Regions from separate parts of the Homo sapiens genome. Here regions 1 and 3 are each linked to region 2. The links are contacts of gene promoters, found by promoter capture Hi-C in blood cells and fetal thymus (Javierre and others, 2016). All regions are on one chromosome and are shown on one strand. Each heading gives the region's core, a stretch centred on a gene start or on the middle of the fragment in contact. The rest is flanking DNA. Distances are from core to core; before and after follow the strand shown. Region 1 has its middle 3.9 kb from the start of SLC25A33. Region 2 holds the start of GPR157 (G protein-coupled receptor 157). Region 3 overlaps SLC25A33 (solute carrier family 25 member 33).

What was found. The method cuts DNA at HindIII sites, captures the fragments that hold promoters and counts their contacts. A CHiCAGO score of 5 or more calls a contact.
Region 1: a contact is called between a fragment that was not itself captured here and the fragment with the promoter of GPR157 in region 2, in 2 of 17 cell types (fetal thymus and M1 macrophages). The highest score is 5.2, in fetal thymus.
Region 3: a fragment that was not itself captured here is called in contact with the fragment with the promoter of GPR157 in region 2 in 1 of 17 cell types (fetal thymus); the score reaches 5.8 in fetal thymus.

Annotation. Positions count from the first base shown.
Region 1 is chr1:9,533,445-9,537,636 of GRCh38, reverse strand. No RefSeq gene overlaps it. Among named protein-coding and RNA genes, the nearest start is that of SLC25A33, 3.9 kb to the left of the region's middle. The HindIII fragment of the contact is 4,795 bases long and covers 1-4,192 here.
Region 2 is chr1:9,127,539-9,131,720 of GRCh38, reverse strand. It overlaps GPR157 (G protein-coupled receptor 157), which reads left to right and starts at 2,619. Exons shown (of 4, transcript NM_024980.5): 1 at 2,619-3,076. The coding sequence starts at 2,694. RefSeq lists enhancers at 742-831, 1,122-1,241, 1,262-1,331 and silencers at 2,033-2,352, 2,413-2,762. The HindIII fragment of the contact is 8,185 bases long and covers 1-4,182 here.
Region 3 is chr1:9,556,481-9,560,987 of GRCh38, reverse strand. The region is part of intron 2 of SLC25A33 (solute carrier family 25 member 33); the gene reads right to left. Among named protein-coding and RNA genes, the nearest start is that of SLC25A33, 19 kb to the right of the region's middle. The HindIII fragment of the contact is 885 bases long and covers 1,296-2,180 here.

The DNA of each region.
Region 1 (4,192 bases), core at 568-3,067, 410 kb before region 2:
TCTGTCACCCAGGCTGGAGTGCAGTGGCACGATCTCGTCTCACTGCAACCTCTGCCTCCCGGGTTCAAGCAATTCTCCTGCCTCAGCCTCCTGAGTAGCTGGGATTACAGGCATGCACCACCACACTGGGCTAATTTTTGTATTTTTAGTAGAGACAGGGTTTCACCATGTTGGTCAGGCTGGTCTCAAACTCCTGACCTCGTGATCCGCCCACCTCAGCCTCCCAGAGTGCTGGGGTTACAGGCGTGAGTCACCGCACCTGGCCTATTATTTTAAGAGGAGGCCTCATTCTGTCACCCAGGCTGGAGTGCAGTGGCACCATCTTGGCTCACTGCATACTCCACCTCCCAGATTCAAGCGATTGTCCTGCCTCAGCCTCCTGAGTAGCTGGGATTACAGACATATGCCACCATGCTTGGCTAATTTTTGTTGGTTTTTTCTTTTTTTTTTTTTTTGACACGGTGTTTCACTCTTGTTGCCCAGGCTGGAGTGCAATGGTGCGTTCTCGGCTCACTGCGACCCCCACCTCTTGGGTTCAAGCGTTTCTCCTGCCTCAGCCTCCCGAGTAGCTGGGATTACAGGCGCCCGCAACCATGCCTGGTTAATTTTTGTATTTTTAGTAGAGACAGGGTTTCACTATGTTGGCCAGGCTGGGCTCGAACTCCTGACCTCAGGTGATCCGCCCGCCTTGGCCTCCCAAAGTGCTGAGATTACAGGTGTGAGCCACCACGCCTGGCTTGAACCTGCTATTTTCCCTGACTAGGATGGCCCCCTTCCTAGACTTCTAGAGCTCCTCTGACACCAGCTCAGGCATTGGCCATGGCCATGTACTGGGTATACAACAGAGATTCCAATAGATAAAAACCTTTAATGAAACATTGGCAATCAAATCCAGCAATATAGAAAAAGGATAATACATCAGGACGAAATGAGAGATGCCCAGGAATTAGAGATTGGTTTAACATTCAAAAAATCAATCCATATAATTCAGCATATTAAGAGAATAACAGGGACACATGTTCCCAGGACCTCCTGGGGCTGTGTCAACAGCAAAAAAAAAAAAAAAAAAAAAAAAAGGAAAAAAAGAAAAAAAAAACAGTGAAAGAGAAAGAGAGAATAATGGAAAAAAACCTGATGACCATGTAAATTGATGCAGAAAAGCATTTGAAAAAACTGAACACCTATTCATGAAAAAAAGCTCTCAGCAAACAAGGAACAGGAGGGAATTCCTCTATCTGATATAAAGCGTCTACCCCAAACCTATAGCTAACATCACACACAACATTAAATAACTGACCACCTGCCCCTAAGATTGGCAATAAGCAAAGATATTTGCCGTTACCACTTACTCAATGTTGTGCTAGAGGCCCTAGTCAGTGCAGTAAGGCAAGAAAAAAAAATGTGTAAAGATCATAAAGAAGTGAAACTGTCTTCAGTCATAGATGATGTAACTGTTTACTAGAAAATTCTAAGTAATCTATATAACAACTACTAGAACTAATTAGTGAATTTAGCAAGATCACAGGAAATAAGGTCAATATACAAAAAAAAAGGTTTTGCTAGCAGCAATTTTAATATAAAAATTTTAAAAATTATTTTTAGGCCAGGCGCGGTGGCTCACGCCAGTAATCCCAGCACTTTGAGAGGCTGAGGCAGGCAGATCACCTGAGGTCAGGAGTTTGAGACCAGCCTGGCCCATAAGCTGCTACTAAAAATACAAAAATTAACTTCGGCATGGTGGTGGGCGGCTGTAATCCCACCTGCTTGGGAGGCTGAGGCAGGAGAATGGCTTGAACCCAAGAGGTGGGAGTTGTGGTGAGCTGAGAACATGCCATTGCACTCCAGCCTGGGTGACAAGAGTGAAACTCCGTGTCAAAAAAGAAAAAAATTATTTTTACAGGCTGGGTGTGGTGGCTCACCTCTGTAATCTCATCACTTTGGGAGGCCACGGTGGGAGGATCATTTCGGCTCTAGACTAACCTGGGCAACATAGCAAGACCCCATCTCTATTTTATTTTATTTATTTTTATTTATTTTTTTAGATGAAGTCTCACTCTGTCACCCAGGCTGGAGTGCAGTGGCATGATCTCAGCTCACTGCAACCTCCACCTCCTGGGTTCAAGCAATTCTCCTGCCTCTGCCTCACGAGTAGCTGGATTACAGGCACGTGCCACCATGCCTGGCTAATTTTTCTGTATTTTTAGTAGAGACAGGGTTTCACCATGTTGGCCAGGCTGGTCTTGAACTCCTGGCCTCAAGTGATCTGCCTGCCTCAGCCTCCCAAAATGTTGACATTACAGACGTGAGGCACCACACCCGGCACCCAACTCTATTTTAATATTAAAAAATTTTTAAATTATTTTTACATCCCTTCTCGGCCTTTTGGCTAAGATCAAGTGTAAAACGATTTTTATAGCTGGGTGTGATGGCACACACCTGTGGTCCTGGCTACTTGAGAGGCTGAGGCAGAAGGATGGCTTAAGCCCTGACGCTGGGCGTGGTGGTTCACGCCTATAATTCTAACACTTTGAGAGGCTGAAGATTGCTTGAACCTGGGATTTCGAAACCAGCCTGGCAACACAGATGGACCCTCACTCTATAAAAAATTTTAAAAATAAGCTGCGTATGGTAGTGTGTGCTTGTAATCGCAGCTACTCTGGAGGCTGAGGTGGGAGAATCTTTTGAGCCTGGGAGGTTGAGGCTGTTGTAAGCCGTGATCGCACCACTGCACTCCAGCCTGGGAGACAGAGAGTGACTCCATCTCAAAAAATAATAATAAAATAAATAATAAGAGCAAAGAAAGAAACCAGACATAAAAAGTATATGATTTCATTTACATGAAATTCTAAAAAAGGTAAAACTAATCTTTAGTGACTGAGAACAGATGAGTGGATGGATGCTGGGGGCCGGGGATAGGAGAGGACTGACTGCAAAGAGGCTGGAAAAAACTTCTTAGGGGTGACAAAAATGTTTCATACCCTGATCAGGGCATATACATACAATGAGAATCTTTGTTTTTGAGACATAGTTTTGCTCTTGTTGCCCAGGCTGGAGTGCAATGGTACCATCTCGGCTCACTGCAACCTCCGCCTCCCGTGTTCAAGCAATTCTCCTGCCTCAGCCTCCTGAGTAGCTGGGATTACAGGTGTCCGCTACCATGCCCAGCTAATTTTTTGTATTTTTAGTAGAGATGGGATTTCATCATTTTGGCCAGGCTGGTCTCGAGCTCCTGACCTCAGGTGATCCACCGCCTCAGTCTCCCAAAGTGCTGGGATTGCAGGCTTGAGTCCCTGCGCCCGGCCCATACAGTGAGAATTAAACTCGTTAAAAGTCATACTTAAAATGGGTGCATTTTATTGTATGTTAATTATAATGTATTTTAGAAACGTTGACCATAAAGTAGGCCAGGCGAGTTGGCTCAGCCTGTAATCCCAGCACTTTGGGTGGCCGAGGTGGGCTGATCACTTGAGGCCAGGAGTTTGAGACCAGCGTGGCCAACATGGCAAAACCCCGTCTCTACTAAAACTACAAAAATTGGCGGGGCGCGGTGGCTCACGCCTGTAATCCCAGCACTTTGGGAGGCCAAGACGGGCGGATCACGAGGTCAGGAGATTGAGACCATCCTGGCTAACACGGTGAAACCCCGTCTCTACTAAAAATACAAAAAAGTTAGCCAGGCATGGTGGTGGGCGCCTGTAGTCCCAGCTACTTGGGAGGCAGAGGCAGGAGAATGGCGTGAACCCGGGAGGCGGAGCTTGCAGGGGGCTGAGATCACGCCACTGCACTCCAGCCTGGGCGACAGAGCGAGACTCCGTCTCAAAAAAAAAAAAAAAAAAAAAAGGAACTACAAAAATTACCTGGGCATGGTGGCGGGCGCCTGTAATCCCAGCTACTTGGGAGGCTAAGGCAGGAGAATTGCTTGAACCCAGGAGGTGGAGGTTTGCTTGAACCCGGGAGGTGGAGGTTGCAGTGAGCTGGGATAGTGCCACTGCACTCCATCCAACCTGGGCAATAGAGCAAGACTTTTGTCAAGAAAAAAAAGAAAGAAAGTTGACTTATAAAGTAAAAAAGCAAGGTGGATTACAGACATAAATATATGTATATATGTATGACATGCCAGGTGTAGAGAGGAAGAAGTTCACAGACAGTTATACTCAGAGATTCATTTAGGTGTTCCTGGGTCTCTGACTTG
Region 2 (4,182 bases), core at 1,370-3,869:
CCACAATGAGGAACAACTTCACACCCACTAGGATGGCTATTATCACAAAGATAATACAAAATGTAGGAAGGCTGGGTGAGGTGGCCTCACGCCTGTAATCCCAGCACTTTGGGAGGCCAAGGCAGGAGTTTGAGACCAGCCTGGGCAATACAGTGAGACCCCATCTCCAAAAAAAAAATTAGTGGGGCCCAGGCAAGGTGGCTCACACCTGTAATCCCAGCACTTTGGGAGGTTGAGGCGGGCAGATCACCTGAGGTCAGGAGTTCAAGACCAGCCTGGCCAATACAGTGAAACCCTGTCTCTACTAAAAATACAAAAATTAGCAGGTTGTGGTGGTGCACACCTGTAATCCCAGCTACTCAGGAGGCTGAGACAGGAAAATCGCTTGAACCCGGGAGGCAGAGGTTGCAGTGAGCCAAGATCACGCCACTGCACTCCAACCTGGGCAACAAGAGCGAGACTCAGTCTCAAAAAAAAAAAAAAAAAAAAATTAGTGGGGCATGGTGACATGCACCTGAAGTCCTAACTACTGGGGAGGCCAAGGTGGGAGAATTCTTAAGCCTAGGAATTTGAGACTGCAGTGAGCTGTGGTTGTACCTGCACTCCAGCCTCGGCGACAAGACCTTGTCTCAAAAAAAAGTTTTGGAAGAATGTAGAGAAATTGCGACCTTCATTGCTAGTGCAAATGTAAAATGATATGTACAGTCACTTTGGAAAACACCTTGGCAGTTCCTCACAAGGTGAAATATAAAGTTGCGTATGGCCCAGCAACTCCATTCCTAGGTATACACATAGGAGAATTGAAAACATACACCCACAAAAAAACTTGTATGCAAATTTTCATAGTGGTATTATTCTTAATAGTTAAAAAGTGTTAACAACCCAAATGTCCATCGGCTGATGAATAATAGCTAAGTAAAATGTGGTATATCCTGCCGAGCGCGGTAGCTCATGCCTGTAATCCTAGCACTTTGGGAGGCCAAGGCAGGCAGATTGCCTGAGCTCAGGAGTTCAAGACCAGCCTGGGCAACACGGTGAAACCCCACCTCTACTAAAATAGAAAAGAAATTAGCCGGGCGTGGCGGCGTGTGCCTGTAGTCCCAGCTACTCGGGAGGCTGAGGCAGGAGAACTGCTTGAAGCCGGGAGGCAGAGGTTGCAGTGAGCCGAGATCATGCCACGGCTCTCCAGCCTGGGCGACAGAGGGAGACTCCGTCTCTAGAAAAAAAAAAAAAAGGTGGTATATCCATATAATGGAATATTACGGGGCAGTAAAAGGAATGAAGCACTGCATATGCTACGATGAACCTTGGAAACGTGCTAAGTTAAAAAAGTCAGACATAAAGGCCACAGAGCATATGAGTCTATTTACAGGAAATGTGCAGAATAAGCAAATCCACGGTAGAAGAGTGGTTGCCAGGGCTGTCGGGGAGAACTGAGGGCTAACAGCTGAGGGATAAGGATTTCTTTTTGGGAGTAATGACAATGTTGTAGAATTACATAATAATGATGGTTGCACAAACTTGTGAACATACTACTGAATTGTTCGGTTAAGAGGGCCAATTTTATGGTATGTGAATTACATCTTAATTACAAAGTTTGAAATTTTTAAAGAAAAAGCCATGCCCTGCCTAGCATTTCATTTTTTAAAAATCACACCTAGTTAGCTATGGTTTTTAAAAAATAGCATGCTTATTTTAAGAAAAGGTGGAAACGCCGGCTTCCCCAAGTCACCACCAACTTGTGAACACGTCGGGATCACGGCTGAAGGAATGAGGATCATACCCGAGAGCTGTTTCTGTTGCTAGTGGAAAGAATGCCTCTGATCCTCACGCCCTTCCACTCACAACACACACAGAAGCTGGCTGAAAAGAGGGAAAGTAATATTAGCCCTAAAAATGCCAGCCCTTCCTCTCACAGGACTGGATGTCCCAGACACCTGGCAAGAGCAGGGGTGGGCCTGGAGGAGCGTGGAGGGACAGGTGCTGGGACCTGGGGGTGCCCTGAGGTAGGGCTTAGGGACCTAGGGGCTTAGGGGCGTGGTGTGAGGGCGTGGGCGGGGCTCAGGAGCCTCGGGCACCGGGTGGAGCTTGGAAGCCTCAGGGGCGTGGCGGGGGCGGGGCTCAGGGCCCGGGGCAACGGGACGAGGAAGGGCACCTGAGCCAGGGTCAGGGCCCGGAACACAGGGGTGTGGCGGGGTGCGTGGGCGGAGCGGGGCGCGTGGGTTAGGCTCTAGGCCCAGGTCTCTGGGCCCTGTGGACAGGGGATCGGGGCGCGTGGGCGGAGCTCTAAGTCCCAGTCTCAACGCGGGGGCACACGGGCGGGGGGGGGGCGTGTGGGCGGGAAGGGCATGTGGGCCGGGGGACGTGTGTCCGGGGCTCGGATTGTGGGCGGGGCTCAGGGCCTGGGACGGCGGGACGGGGCTGGGAGTGTAGGCGGGGCTTAAAGGCCGGGGTACCGGGGTGGGGCGCGGCGCGTGGGCGGGGCTCAGGGCCCGGGATATAGGGGCGGGGCGCAGGGCGTGGACGGGGTTCAGGGCCCGGGGCCCAGATGGGCGGGGGAGCGGCCGGACGCGGGCGGGGCGGGCGCCTGGACGCGAGCCTAGGGCGCCTCGGTGCCCAGACGGCGGCGGCGTGGCCGCACGCGCGGCCCGGCTTCTGTCCTCGCGGCGCTCCGGCTCCTGGCCCCCCACGCCATGCAGCCGTCCCCGCCGCCCACCGAGCTGGTGCCGTCGGAGCGCGCCGTGGTGCTGCTGTCGTGCGCACTCTCCGCGCTCGGCTCGGGCCTGCTGGTGGCCACGCACGCCCTGTGGCCCGACCTGCGCAGCCGGGCACGGCGCCTGCTGCTCTTCCTGTCGCTGGCCGACCTGCTCTCGGCCGCCTCCTACTTCTACGGAGTGCTGCAGAACTTCGCGGGCCCGTCGTGGGACTGCGTGCTGCAGGGCGCGCTGTCCACCTTCGCCAACACCAGCTCCTTCTTCTGGACCGTGGCCATTGCGCTCTACTTGTACCTCAGCATCGTCCGCGCCGCGCGCGGGCCTCGCACAGATCGCCTGCTTTGGGCCTTCCATGTCGTCAGGTGGGTGGCGGTGGCGCTGCTTTTCCAGGAGCCCCCGACACAGGCCGACCCCTCCCGGTCTTGCCCTCCCAGAGGCCGCGTCTAGGTTGGACACCCCCTACCCACAGCAAGCAGTGCCTGCTGGCGCCCCCGAGGCTGTCCTGGGCCAGCGGGAGGAGGCCAGCCTTGCCCGAGATTCGCTCCCTCCCGAAGGAGCCCCGCTGTGCCTGCCCCAGGGCACAGCCCCTTGGGGTAGTGGGGACAGAGTTCGCCCCCAGAGCCGGGCCCTGTTTCCTTGGACGGGGCTGGGGAGGACACTCTGAGCCCCTTGTGACCTGCTTCACTGTGTCCTGGCTGTCTCTGCTGCCCATGGGGAAACAGGCTGGGAGACGAGTTAGGTAACTGTCCCGGGCTGGAGAGCCGGCAACTGCCAGTCCCACGCCACCACCCCACCCCAAGCCACAGTGAGCTTGGTGCACTCCGCCACTCCCGAGCTGCCGTGTCTCTGCTGTACAGTTTACAAAGGACTGTGCTTTTTATTCTGTCTTTGGTCGTTTCTAGCCTCAGGCCCCAGCCCCTTGTATTTCTGTTCTAGATGATCTTGACTTTCCAGAGTTCAGCAATTCTGAGATTGAGGGCAGGGGCGGAGGGCTGGTCTGGGAGTCTCGGAGTCCTCCTGGAGTCTCTCTGAGAGTGGGGAAAAGCCAAGACCTTACTTTGCGATTCAAGCGTCTTTCAAGTAAGCCTCGCTGAAGAGGGTCGGCCCTTCCCTGGGGAATGTCAGGTTTTGAAAATCTCATGGCGTCCTGTGCTGTGCTGAACTGAGGGCAGGAATCCTAGGGGCTGTTTTCCTTTTCTCCTTCTCCCAGATCAGAGCATCAGATACTGCCCTAATTATAGGTCCTTTCTATTAAAAACTTAAGTGCATTCCAAGGACTGCGAGCACAGTCAGCACTTTGGCAGAGACAGGTCACCTGGGTGTCACACGGCAAGGCTACAGGGCTGTAAGAGTCGCTTGACCTTCAGTTGTGCACTGAGGCCGGCTGGTCCTTGAGAAACTAAGTGACCTGCTTCTCAGCTGTACAAGTAAAAAATCTTTGCAACACATCATCCAAACCGAGGCTCAG
Region 3 (4,507 bases), core at 489-2,988, 430 kb before region 2:
ACAGAGCAAGACTCTGCCTCAAAAAAAAAAAAAAAAAGAATGTGTCTCAGCAGTTTAAATAGTAAGAACTTTGCTGGAAAATATTAAGCCAGAAGATTTTTATTTTTTTTAAAAGCAAATACCTGAAATACATATACTATTTATTACTCTGGCACATTTAATAGCAGATACCTGAATCTGTTAACATATTGCCTTTTTGCTTTTTAAGTAACTATTAAAAAAAAAAAGATAGGTTCGAGATAGGTTCTTCAATAGAGAATTTTTTTCTTTAACAGAATACTTTTCTTTAACAGAATAGAGAATATTTTTTTCTCTGAATTTTGAAAATAAACTTTCTATAAACAAATTCTGTTCTCTGACAAGTCTTTTAAAGTAGTATTCCCCAAATGAGTAAGACTATTAATAAGCAGACAACTTTTTTTTTGAGATGGAGTCTTGCTCTGTTACCCAGACAGGAGTGCAGTGGCACGATCTCGGCTCACTGCAACCTCCGCCTCCGGGGTTCATGCCATTCTCCTGCCTCAACCTCCCGAGTAGCCGGGATTACAGGCGCCCACCGCCACACCTGGCTAATTTTTTGTATTTTTAGTAGAGATAGGGTTTCACCGTGTTAGCCAGGATAGTCTCTATCTCCTGACCTCGTGATCCGCCCGCCTCGGCCACAAGCAGACAACTTTTAAACGAATGACCATGTTATTTGCATGGGTTTTTTTTCTTTTCTCTTTTTTTTTTTTTTGAGATGGAGTCTCGCTCTGCTGCCCAGGCTGGAAGGCAGTGGCGTGATCTCGGCTCACTGCAACCTCCGCCTCCCAGGTTCAAGTGATTCTCTTGCCTCACCCTCCCGAGAAGCTGGGATTACAGGCACGTGCTGCCATGTCCGGCTGGTTTTTGTATTTTTAGTAGAGACGAGGTTTCGCCATGTTGGCCAGGTTGGTCTCTAACTCCTGACCTAAGGTGATCCACCTGCCTTGGCCTCCCAAAGTGCTGGGATTACAAGGGTGAGCCACTGCGCCCAGCCTTGTATGGTTTTTGAATAACAAAGTGTCTTCCAAAAATGTCAACAGGAAACTAACACGGGCTTTGTAGATAAGACAAAAGCCTGTACCCTTGTTCTTGTTTGATCACTTACTAGATAAAGACCCTCTCTGTAAACCATCGTCACCGCCGTTAGCTTAGGGATGGTTAATGAAGAAACAGAAAGCTGTACAATAATCCAGGTGAGAGAGGATGGTGGCTTCAACCCACATGGTAGCAGCCTGAAAAGGAGCCACCCTCTGTTAAGCCCCCCTAAAGCTTCCTAAGTTGGTATATTGTTTTTATGTAAGTCCTGAGTTACAGACTCTGCCTTTAGAACTTATTAACAGGAAAAGATACAAATTTCCCCCGAAGAGTATGCTTTCTTCACATGAGAATTATGTAATAGGATATTCCCCCCCACCTTTTTTTTTTGCCTCTATTAAGAGATAAAAGACTTTAAGGTTAAAAAAAAACAAAACCTTGTGTTTAAAAGCAGAGAGTAGCTATTATAATGACAGCAGCTTTTATTATTTACACGGAGGGAGGGTGTTAAGCCCTTTATATGCAATATCTTCCTGACATGCCAAAACTCATGCATTCAATTTGTATGGAATGCTTGCTATGTGACAGGCAACATTCTCGATGCTTGGGGACGATTTCAGTAATTAAAAGAAACCAAAGTCACTACCTCCAAAGAAGTCCCATTGGAGGGGGTGGTGAAGAGGGAGAAAAGAATAGAAATAAGTAAACTACACTGTATGTTGATGGACGTAAGTGCTACGGATAAAAATATAAAGCAGGAAGGCGGGCTGGAGTGTTGCGGAGAGTTTGCTTTTAAATAGCATGGTCACTATAGGGTCTTCCTGCAAGGTGATGACAGCGGACGTCAGCCGTGCAGACAATGTCTACTGCAAACACCCTGCGGTGGGAAATGTTCCTGGCCTTTTAAAGGAACAAAAAGGAGGCTGGAGAGGCAAAGGGGAAAATAGGAGATGAAAAGTCAGAAGTAATGGGAAGGGTGAGAATCGTGTAGAACCTAGTAGGCCACAGGGATAGCTGTAGCTCTTACCCAGAGGGAGACAGCAACTCTGAGCAGAGGATCTGAGCAGAGGGTTCTCTGGGTGCTCTGCTGAGATCAGACTGAGGGTAGAGGGCAGCAAGCTTTCAAGCCAGAGCAGTCAGGAAGTGAATGCACCAATATAGGTGAGATACGGTGGCTTCCATCAGGACAGTGGTGGAGGAAGTAGTGAGAAGGGGTAAGATTCTGTATTTATTTTGAAGGTAGACTTGATAGGATTTGCTGCAGGGCTGAGAAATAAGATCCAAGGATGACTATGAAGCTTGAGATCTGTGTAGCTGGAAAGATGGAGCTGCCTCTAACAGAGACAGGGAAGACTCTGGGAGCAGTAGGTTTTGTGGAGTTCTGTTTTGCTCATGTTACTCTTGGATGGCTAATAAACATCCAAGCTGTCAAACAGGCAGCCGGATGGAGCGTGTGAGGCTCAGAGCAGAAAGGCTGCCAGCTTACAGATGGTATTTACAGCCATGAAACTAAGTGCGCCCACAGGAGTGGCAGTAGCTAGAGAAGGCCAGGGTCTGGGCCCTGGACCCTCCAACAGCCAGAGGTTGTAAGGCTGCAGCACAGCAAAGGAAACAGAAGCAATAGCCACGGAGGCAGAAGGGTGCAGTCCTAGGAGTCTCTGAGCTGGGAACTGCTGCTGCCTTCGCGGAGAAGCAGCAGAGGCTCAGCCTTGTGTCTGGGGCTTGTTCATTTCTTACTTTACTTTAGCGGCTTCAAGTCTTTCTTAGAAGCAAGGTGGATATACATTGAACATGACTTTGGGCATGTCACTTAGCCCTTAACCTGCATGTCCTCTTCTCTAAAATAGAGGTAACGTCACGCCTGAGTACTCATCTGCTAAGGTTGTGCAAAATCAATGAAATACTACCACGTAAAAGGAGTTTTCTTCGTAAGTGTATACACCTACTATGTACCCACAATTTTTTAAAAGTAGTCCTTTACTTGAAAGTTATTAAATAGTTGTGTGAGAGAATCTTTCTTTTTTTTGACACAGGGTCTTATTCCATTGCCCAGGCTGGAGTACAGTGGCACAATCACAGCTCACTGCAGCCTTGATCTCCTGGGCTCAAGGACATCCTGTCTTACGTAAATTGTGCCTAAAAGTGCTAAATGTGTGGTTTTTGCAATAGAGCACCTGCATTTTATTACGTCTTTTTCTAACATTTCCCAAATACATTTTTACAATGATAAGTAGCTTTCCTGATAAATGTGTCTTGAACACACTCTTGCCCAAGAATCCGTTTGAGAGATCTGAATATCATGCTCAGTTATATTCAACTCCTAAGTTCAGCCTCCTGAGTAGCTGGGATTATAGGTGCACGCCAACATGCCCGGCTAATTTTTTGTATTTTTTGTAGAGATGGGATTTCGCCACATTGCCCAGGCTGGTCTCAAACTCCTGGGCTCAGCTCAAGCAATCCATTTGCATTGGCCCTTCAAAGTGCTAGGAATACAGGCATGAGCCACCGTGCCCAGCCCAGAATTTTAAAAATATATAATAAAGCTGAGGAAATAAAGCTTAAATAAAATAGCTCTTGGGTGAAAAGTGCCACTTTACAAACACCTTTCTGACAAAACATTATAACTAAAATTTTACTTACTAACGCCATTGTTTATATTTTGATGTCAATAAAATAAACTGATTTAAAAGTATTCATGCCGAGCACAGTGGCTCACGCCTGTAATCCCAGCACTTTGGGAGGCCAAGGCGGGCAGATCACCTGAGGTTGGGAGTTTGAGACCCGCCTGACCAACATGGAGAATCCCTGTCTCTAATAAAAATACAAAATTAGCCGGGCGTGGTAGCACATTCCTGTAATCCCAGCTACTTGGGAGGCTGAGGAAGGAGAATCGCTTGAACCTGGGAGGCGGAGGTTGTGCCGAGATCACGCCATTGCACTCCAGCCTGGGCAACAAGAGTGAAACTCTGTCTCAAAAAAACCCAAAATTAATTAATTAATTAAAGTATTCATATATAAGTGATGGCTCATTATTGTGTAGCTGTGGCTGTATTAACCAATGAAGCCGGTGGGACTGTAATGAAAATAGTTTGTCTTTTGTGTGGTGTGGAAGTTGTTCCTGTATTAAAACATGGAGTGGCCTTTTTCCTTTGATTTAAATTTTACTAAACAATTGCCCTAATTGAGGGGAGGGAACAGATACACACAGACACACAGACACACACACAGACACACACACACACACACAGACACAGACACACACACAATCTCTTATGGGGGGGGCTGGATTTACTGGAGATTAGAAAGCCATAAGAATCCAAAATGTTCTAAAATCAGAAACTTTTTGAGTGACAACATGATGCTGAAAGAAATGCCCATTGGAGCATTTTGTATTTCTGGACTGGGGATGCTGAACTGGTATGATGAAGCAAATATTCCAAAATCCGAA